Linked DNA regions of Homo sapiens: all the other regions are linked to region 2. Evidence: promoter capture Hi-C in 16 types of primary human blood cells and fetal thymus (Javierre and others, 2016). All regions are on one chromosome and are shown on one strand. The core of a region is centred on a gene start or on the middle of the fragment in contact, and the rest is flanking DNA. Distances in the headings are between cores, read along the strand shown.

Region 1 (2,715 bases), core at 72-2,571, 780 kb before region 2:
ACAACACTAACTACAGACAGTAAAGAGTTTACAGAGCAAAACTTCTGCTCCTGACCATGGAAGTCTTGCCAATGATCGACTCAGGACTGGTTTTTTTGTTTGTTTGTTTGAGACAGGGTCTCACTCTGTCACCCAGGCTGGAGTGTAGTGGTGCGATCTTGGCTCACCACAACCTCTGCCTCCTAGGCTCAAGAGATTCTCGTGCCTCAGCCTCCTGAGTAGCTGGGATTACAGGCGGGCATCACTACTTCCCGGCTAACTTTTGTATTTTTAGTAGAGACGGGGTTTCACCATGTTGGCCAGGCTGGTCTTGAACTCCTGACCTCAGGTGATCTGCCCACCTCGGCCTCCCAAAGTGCTGGGATTACAGGCGTGAGCCACCGCACCCCGCCTTTTTATTTTTATTTTTATTTATTTATTTTTTGAAACAGAGTCTCGCTCTGTCGCCCAGGCTGGAGTGCAGTGGCACAATCTCCACTCACTGCAACCTCCGCCTCCCAGGTTCAAGCGATTCTCATCTCCAGGTTCAAGCGATTCTCATGCTCCAGCCTCCCGAGTAGCTGGGATTATAGGCATGAGTGTGCCACCACGCCCGGCTAATTTTTTTGTATTTTTAGAGATGGGGTTTCACCATGTTGCCCAGGCTGGTCTCGAACTCCTGTCTTCAAGTGATTCACCCGCCTCGGCCTCCCAAAGTGCTGGAATTACAGGCGTGAGCCACGGCTCTGGCCTGATTCAGGACTGCTGACCACTGCTTTATCTCCCATTCCGTAAGGGGCCAGGAGCAGAAGCTTGAAACGTCAGCAACCCGATCTAGGGCACCTCCACCTCTAGCTGGAGGGAGCCTTGGGCCCTAGTCCAGTCCTCCCACAAGCACCTTTCTGAAGGAAGGGGCCCGCTGGGAGGCCCGGGTGTGGGCATGCCTAGCCTATCTGTGGCCCCTTACCAAGTCCTCTGTCCTCTGGGTCTTCCCGGACCTGCAGACAGATGTAAGGCCTCGGATTTCCGCCCCTCTGCCCAGCCCATATCTCTCTGCACGAGGCATATTCTAGGCAGGTTCTGCTTTCCCGGTCTCATCACTTAAGTCCTGTCATTTCGAAGGCAGGCGCCCCGTCGTGTCCCCAAAGCATCCACATTTCCCAAGCTCCCTTCCGGTCCTTGAGGCCCCTCGGGTCTCAGCAGCCACTAAAATCCGCTTGTCTGGGGCGGCAGCCTCAGGTCTTAGCTCATTGGCTAACAAGAGATGATTGACAGGTCCTGAGCCAGAGAGCGAGCCCACCGGGCTCTCAGTCCGCCCAGCTTTGCCGGGTCTCCAGGAGCAGGTGTGGCTGGACCACTGGAATCCCAGTCTGAGGCCGTGTTCTAGTGGGCGCGCAGTTTCCTGCCCGACTAGGCAGAATCCTGCCCGAGCATGACACTGTGGGTGGTTTGGTGAAGTCCTGTTTTCTCTTGCCAAGACCAAGTAAGGGCTTGTTTGCCTCAGCTGCCCTCGGATCCCAACCCCTAGAAGGTGAACCTGAAAGGCATGGAAATCGGGGCAAGGGAGGGCCTGGGACGGGTGGATTTCTCAGCCCTGGGGTTCAGGGTTAGGAGTTAGGAGCGGGGAAGGAGTCCCAGCTGGGGGATGGGGCCGATCTGTAGTGACTTTGAGCACCTCCTAATGTTCTCGGTTGCCCGTCCACCAAGACCTCAGATTCCTGGTGGGCTTGCCTGGGCCCCATTAGTGGCTCAAGGTCCCGTTTCCCAGTTTTCTCCCTCCTGGGCTTCCCAGACCTGCACAGAGTGGGTGCTCAATAAATGTTATTTGAGAGAATAACAGTGATTCCATTTACTAGGCAGGGGGCCATAAGCCAAGCTTGAATCTCATAGCAGGAAACCCCATTTACAGAGGGAGAAACTGAGGTTCATGGGGCTGGTTTGTCCTTTCTACCCATCGTTTATTGACTGATTGATTGATGCATTGATTGAGATAAGGTCTTGCTGTGTCGCCCAGGCTGGAGTTTAGTGGTGCAATCATGGCTCACTGCAGCCTTGACCTCCCCGGGTCAAGTGATCCTCCCACCTCAGCCTCCTGAGTAGCGGGACCACAGGCGCACATCACCATGCCTGGCTAATTTTTTATTTTTTATAGAGATGGGGTCTCCCCTTTGTTGCCCAGTCTGTTCTTGAACTACTGGGCTCAAGCAATCCTCCAGCCTTAGCCTTCCAAAGTGCTGGGATTACAGGCCTGAGCCACCATGCCTGGCCCACCCATCGTATTCTGAGAGCCACAGCCAGAGGAAGTGTTCTGTCCTGGGTGGAATCTGCCACCACGACTTGGGTCTCTGTCCCGGGGCTCCAGCAGCCCTGTAAAGTTTTGTGTTTTTTTAGCATTTCCAAGACCTGTGGTGGGGACCGGGATTGATCTGGGAGAGTTTGGAGAGGAGGTGACTGGGAGGCCTCGCCTGTGTTGACGTCAACCCAGTGGGTTGGTTCCCAGACTGGGCGGCTCAGTCCCTGAGCAGCAGCCTCATGGGTCTCTGCAGACAGGTGGGCCAATGTGAAGGTGGAGTGCGAGCCGAGCTGGCAGCCCTTCCAGGGCCACTGCTACCGCCTGCAGGCCGAGAAGCGCAGCTGGCAGGAGTCCAAGAAGGCATGTCTACGGGGCGGTGGCGACCTGGTCAGCATCCACAGCATGGCGGAGCTGGAATTCATCACCAAGCAGATCAAGCAAGG
Region 2 (3,061 bases), core at 169-2,668:
GGACAAGGCTGGGCACGGTGGCTCACGTCTGTAATCCTAGCACTTTGGGATGCCAAGGCGGGCAGATCACTTGAGGTTAGGAGTTCGAGACCAGCCTGGCCAACATGGTGAAACCCCGTCTCTCCTAAAAATGCAAAAATTAGCTGCGTGTTGTGGCACACACCTGTAATCCCAGCTACTAGGGAGGCTGGAACAGGAGAATCGCTTGAACCCGGAAGATGGAGGTTGCAGTGAGCTGATATTGCCCTCTGCACTCCAGCCTCCTGGCAACAGAGCAAGACTCCATCTCAAAAAAAAAAGAAGGAAGGAAAGTAAGGAAAGCAAGAAAGCAATAAAGCAAGAAAGAAAAGGAGTGGGACAAGCAGGGTGGTTCCACCTCCAGCTCTAGGAGGCTCCCTCATGCAAGGAGGTGGGGCTGCCACCGCCTCGTATTTTCCTGCCTCCATCAAATTTCACCGGGAGAAATCCAGGCACCTAGAGGAGGTGGCAAAGCTTTTTTTTTTTTTTTTTCATTAGCTATTAAACCAAAGGGGCAGAATCTAGGCGCCCTAGATGTAACTTCATTTACGGAGTCAGAAAATCCACAAAGGCTGCCAAGGTGGAATGAATGAGAGGAGGACGACCAGAAAGGAGAAGTCTGGGAAGGGGACCCCAGATCCACACGGATGATCCTCGCTCCGTGATACAGTCGGGGACAGGGCAGGGAGGGAGGGAGGGAGGGTGGCCCTGCCATCTCCCAGGTGTCAAGGTGGCGGCAGCTCCGCCCTCAGCGCAGTTGGCACCGGCCTGACCCACCACAGGGCCACCGAGGCCACCGAAGCCATGGGGCTTTCCCACTCGGGAAACTCCCACCCTCGCGCTCAGAAGCTGGGGGCGTCGGGAGACACAGGCGGGGACCTGCGGCTCCACGTTGCAGCCCGGGCCCTGCTCGGGGCAAGAGGCGGTGGCTCCGGTTTCAGATTTCAAGAGGGCAGCCGTGGCAAAGGCTGGTTGGTCCATTTGCACCCTACCTTGCTCTAGAACGCGGCGCAGGAGCAAAGATCCAAACTCGGGGTCACCAGCAAGCGGGGGTCTCGGTTCTAACTTCAGCAGAGACCCGGCACCCGGGCAGGCCAGGGCAGGGGCCGCCTGGACCGGGAGAGGCTCGGCTCCGAGAGGGCGGGCGAGCCCTGCAGCCCTCGGGCCCAGGGTGCGGGTCGGCGCCGCAGTCCAGTGCGCGGCCGCAAGGGGCAGGTGCGAGGCCGGCTGCTACTCGGGAGCCCCGCGCTGTCCCTCCCTGCGCAGTCAGGGCTCACCTGGGCCGCCCCCGCCCCGCACCCCTGCGCGCTCCGCTCCCACCCCCAGCCCGGCCTCCTACCTTGCCTACCCGAGCGTCCCTTCAGCCTCCCCGCGCCGCGCCCGGGTCGCTTGGCCGGTTCTGCGGGCCGTGGCGCGACGGCGTCGCCATGGCAACCGGGCGGCGGGCTGGGCGGTGTCTCCGGGACCGGAAGTGGCGTACGCGGCCCCCGGGGCTGCCCCGCACGTGCCAGGTCCCCGCGGTTGCGGCCACGCTCGGGACCGGGCCCTGCCAGCTCCGGGCCCGCACGTGGGCGAACCGCGGCCACCGTGAGCCCGGCCTCGCGACCTCCCTCCGGGGCCCCCATGATCGGGGGTGCGTGGGATCTGCGGCCTGCGGGGGTGGAGGGCCGGGAGCTCCCCCGGGCCTGCCTCGAGGGCCGCGGGATTCGTCCTTGCGAGCCCCGACTGCGCACGGAAGGACCTGGGGTCGGCCAGGCCTGGGGGATGGGACGGGCCCCGAGGAGAGCGGGTGCCAGGGGCGAGACCCGCCGCCCTTCCCCGGCTTGGTCCCGCGCTTCCTGATTTTCTCGCTCCACGCCTCCCATTCTGCCCTCCACCTTCTTCCCTGCCCCGCCCTCGCCCTGCCCGGGCCCAGGAGGCCACTAGATGTCAGACCCGGTTCGGGCCTTGGCCACGCCGCCGCTCCGGGAGCCCTGGGGGCACCTCCCCAGCCCCCACGGGGGAGACGATACTGCCGGGAAGGCCCGGACTAGCCCCCGCCCCCGCAGAGTAGCCTTCGGGGAACACCGATTCCACCAGGCTCTCACGAAAGCCGAGAGCTTGCCGTCCGCAGCTTCCCCTGCCCAAAGCGCAGAGAAACGAGGGCGCCGAGGCCAAGACCAAGACCGGGAGCCAGCCCCTTCGGAGCCCGGTCCAGGCCCCCGGTCCAGGAAGTGCTGTGGGTAGATAAGGGGCCCAGCTCAGACTTCCTACAAGCTGGGAAGAAAGGGTTCTTTCCTGTCTGATGCCGGGCCAGATGTAGCAAGCGCCTAGGGGTAGGAGGGAAATGGGGTTTCCTCCCCGCAGAGGGAAACCGGCCTCCATTCAGGAACGCCCTCCCCCACCTGCCCTCCAGGCACCGAGGTTCTGGGAGGCCGGGGGGCAGGGAGACCTGCTTACTTGAATGCGCTTTGTGTATTGCCTGTGTATTGCCACAGGCAGTGGGCAAGATAGGCCCTGGGGATCCAGTACTCGCTTAGTACACAGAGAGCAGTCTCCAGCGCCAGGCGAGACGCACAGGCGTGTCAGCTGCATATGGCACACGGTGGCACATGGCACACCTTCCACGAGCAGACACAAGGGGCCGACACAGCAGGGCCCACCCCCTCAGAGGGACCAAGCTTAAACCCTCCAACAACAGAAAATTTGTAGAGTATCTTTCAGTTGGAGGAAATTAATGGATAATTTAAAGTAAGAAACAGTTTCCTTAGCGTGCTAACAGGCAGAATCCCTGTGGATTGAAGGTGGAACTGAGCCATGTCCTTTGTTTGGTCTGTGGATTTAGACGTGGAGGAGGAGTCCTGACCGGCTGAGCAGGGCTGAGTTCCCTCGTGAGAGCCCCGGGCCTTCAGCCCCTTCCAAAGCCAGGAGAGACTCCTGCTGAGGGGTGATAGGGGCCCTTTGGCTTCCCCCTCACCCCACGGCCCAGCAGCACGGGGCTGCAGGCTTTTCCCTTAGGAGGAAGAGCAGCCGCCTCCCTGCCAGCAGTGTTCTCAAGGGCCTG
Region 3 (2,865 bases), core at 323-2,822, 750 kb before region 2:
TCACCCTGCTCCCTCTCGCCCCTTCTCTCCCACCCCTTCCTTCTGAGCCGGGCCCTGGGGATTGGGGAGCCCTCTTGTTCCTGATGAGGGTCAGCTGAGGGGGCTGAGCATCCATCACTCCTGTGCCTGCTGGGGTGGCTGTGGGGCGTGGCAGGAGGGGCCTAGGTGGGTTGGGCCTGAGAACCAGGGCACGGGTGTGGTGTCTGCTGGGCTGGAGATAAGACTGGGGAGAGACACCCCAACCTCCCAGGGTGGGAGCTGGGCCGGGCTGGGATGTCATCTCCTGCCGGGCGGGGGAGGGCTCTGCCCCTGGAAGAGTCCCCTGTGGGGACCAAAATAAGTTCCCTAACATCTCCAGCTCCTGGCTCTGGTTTGGAGCAAGGGGAAGGGTTGCCAGAGTCCTGGGGGCCCCAGAGGAGCAGGAGTCTGGGAGGGCCCAGAGTTCACCCTCTAGTGGATCCAGGAGGAGCAGCACCCGAGCCCTGGAGTGGCCCAGTACCCTTCCAAGAGGCCACAGTCCCAGCCAGGACAAAGTATGCGGCCCATCCTGGTGCGACAGCGTGGGACAATGTGAACATGGACTCGAAGACATGGCCCTTTCTCTGTAGTTGATTTTTTAAATGTGCCATTATTGTTTTTAAAAAAAAAGGAAAAAAGAAAAGCAAACAAATAAAACACCTTTAAGAGGCTTGAAAGAGAAGGTTCTGCCTTGTCCTGTGGTGAGCCTGCTTCTTCACGTCTGTCCCTTCGGAGATAACTGTTGTTTTGGAGCTTGCACCACAGGTGTTTTCTGCAGCTGGCCATTTTGCGTCTGTCTCTGGGCCTCTAGGGGACACTCTCACCCCCGATCTTTAGGAGCTCACCCCTCTGGGCCTGCGCCTCCCTCTCTCTGTTCCTGGGGGCTTGAATGTGGGTGAGAACTCAGGAGCCAGGCCATCTGCTGCTGAGCAGCCAGCCGTGCAAGCTTGGGCAACTTAGCACACCTCTCAACATGTGCACAGTGGGGAGAACCGGACCCACCTCCTAGGGTTGTTTTAAGGATATGTGAGGATCAAGGGAGCTCATCTGTGCAGAGCACTTAGAACAGTGCCTCTGGGCTCTGCAAGCGCTAGGCGTTACTGCCGTTTCTGGGCTGCGGCTCCAGGGGAGCACTTGATGTGTCCAGGCCGGCCCTGGGTGGGGGCTCCACATCACCGTCCTTCCAAGGCAGCCATCATACCTGCCCTCTAACAGCCTGAAAGTTCACATGTGTCCTTAGGGAGCCTGGGCTCTGAAACCACAGAAGGCAGAATGGACGGCAGGACCTTTACTCACCTGCTTGTTCATTCAGCCGGTATTTGAGCTGGAGATGCCAACAAAGGAAGGTTAACCAACGCCAATCGGGCGAGGCAGGGGGAAGCTGCTAATGTGGCCTGTGTGTCTGGGGAGGGTCTCACTAGAGGGAGTGAGATTGACTGCAGCCTGAAGGAGGTGGCGGAGTGAGCAATGCAAATATCTGGGCCAGGGCTAGGGGGGCATCCCTGGTGCTTTAGGGGACCAGCAGGGAGGCGAGGTGGGCTGAGGCTGAGATGAGTCAGGCAGGGCCAGATTGTCCAAGGCCCTGAAGGCAGTGGTAGAATGTAGCATTATTTTCAGGATAGTGGGAAGTCAATGGGAATGGCTAATCAGGCTGACCTTTTAACAAGATCATTCTGGCTAGGAGTTGAGAAATAGACAATGGATGGGAAACGGGGGAGTGAAAGCAGGAAGGCTGGTGCGGAAGCTCTTGTAATAATTCAGGCACAACAAGACGGTGGTTTGTTGGGATCAGGACTGCAGTAGTGGTCAGATTCTGTGTGTGTGTGTGTGTGTGTGTGTGTGTGTGTGCGCGCGCGTGCGTGTGTGTGTGTTTTGCCCTGTTCATGATATTTAAAATAAGTTTCCACTTTTATGAATAGACAATGCAGTCACGCAGTCTGCATTGCGTGGGATACCTAAATGATATCCCAAGATAGATGTTGCGCAAGTCCTGCCCCTGCCCGTCGCCCTCCAGCCTATACCCTCCTGCCCTGTCAGTTTCCTGTCTTTCCAGTGTTTCTTTGTGAAAGCAAATGAACGCCAGATTGGACTGAAGGGATGGCGGATGCCCTTGCTGGGGATGGGATCTGCCTGGGGAAAGGCAGTGGGAGTCAGGAAGCACTCCAAGCTTCCCGCCTGGACTGCAGGGTGAATGGGGTGCTGTTTCCTGAGACAGGAGCCCTAGGGAGAGCCCATGAGCTGCTGGCCTGAGTCCAGGACTACGGTGGAGCCCAGGGGACCCCCTCCAGCAATCCTCTCTGTGCCGCCCCAGCAACAGCAGGACCCATGGAAGGCGCCTAATCACTCAGGGGAGGGAGTCCCAGTCCTGTGGGAGGTTCACCCTGGAGTGAGTTGCTATCTAGCCCTGCAGCCCAAACAGCTCCCTTTGTGAGTTAAGTGCCCTGCCACTGCCCACAGTGAGAGGTGAAGCCAGCTGGACTTCCTAGGTTGAGTGGGGACTTGGAGAACTTTTCTTACAAGAGGTTTGTAAAATCAGTGCTCTGTAAAAATGCACCAATTGGTGCTCTGTAGCTAGCTAGAGGTTTGTAAAATGCACCAATCAGTGCTCTGTAAAAATGCACTAATCAGCACTCTGTACCTGGCTAGAGGTTTGTAAAATGGACCAATCAGCACTCTGTAAAATGGACCAATCAGCAGGACATGGGCGGGGACAAATAAGGGAATAAAAGCTGTGTCCTCCCCACCCACCCCACCCCTAGCAGCAACCCGCTCAGGTCCTCTTCCATACTGTGGAAGCTTTGTTCTTTCACTCTTCACAATAAATCTTGCTGCTGCTCCTCACTCTTT

Evidence for each region. Contacts are between HindIII fragments. The CHiCAGO score rates a contact against its expected background, and 5 or more counts as called.
Region 1: a fragment that was not itself captured here is called in contact with the fragment with the promoter of CYB561 in region 2 in 1 of 17 cell types (endothelial precursors); the score reaches 5.4 in endothelial precursors.
Region 3: a fragment that was not itself captured here is called in contact with the fragment with the promoter of CYB561 in region 2 in 2 of 17 cell types (endothelial precursors and erythroblasts); the score reaches 6.2 in endothelial precursors.

Annotation. Positions count from the first base shown.
Region 1 is chr17:62,669,124-62,671,838 of GRCh38, forward strand. MRC2 (mannose receptor C-type 2) reads left to right here. Exons shown (of 30, transcript NM_006039.5): 7 at 2,526-2,714. Among named protein-coding and RNA genes, the nearest start is that of MARCHF10-AS1, 36 kb to the right of the region's middle. RefSeq lists enhancers at 336-1,095, 1,096-1,854, 2,174-2,674, 2,675-2,715. The HindIII fragment of the contact is 1,064 bases long and covers 790-1,853 here.
Region 2 is chr17:63,444,888-63,447,948 of GRCh38, forward strand. It overlaps CYB561 (cytochrome b561), which reads right to left and starts at 1,419. Exons shown (of 6, transcript NM_001915.4): 1 at 1,358-1,419. RefSeq lists silencers at 1,116-1,675, 1,846-2,035 and enhancers at 2,005-2,818, 2,176-2,315, 2,819-3,061. The HindIII fragment of the contact is 2,186 bases long and covers 491-2,676 here.
Region 3 is chr17:62,692,898-62,695,762 of GRCh38, forward strand. MRC2 (mannose receptor C-type 2) reads left to right here. Exons shown (of 30, transcript NM_006039.5): 30 at 1-700. Among named protein-coding and RNA genes, the nearest start is that of MARCHF10-AS1, 12 kb to the right of the region's middle. RefSeq lists an enhancer at 1-366. The HindIII fragment of the contact is 1,221 bases long and covers 963-2,183 here.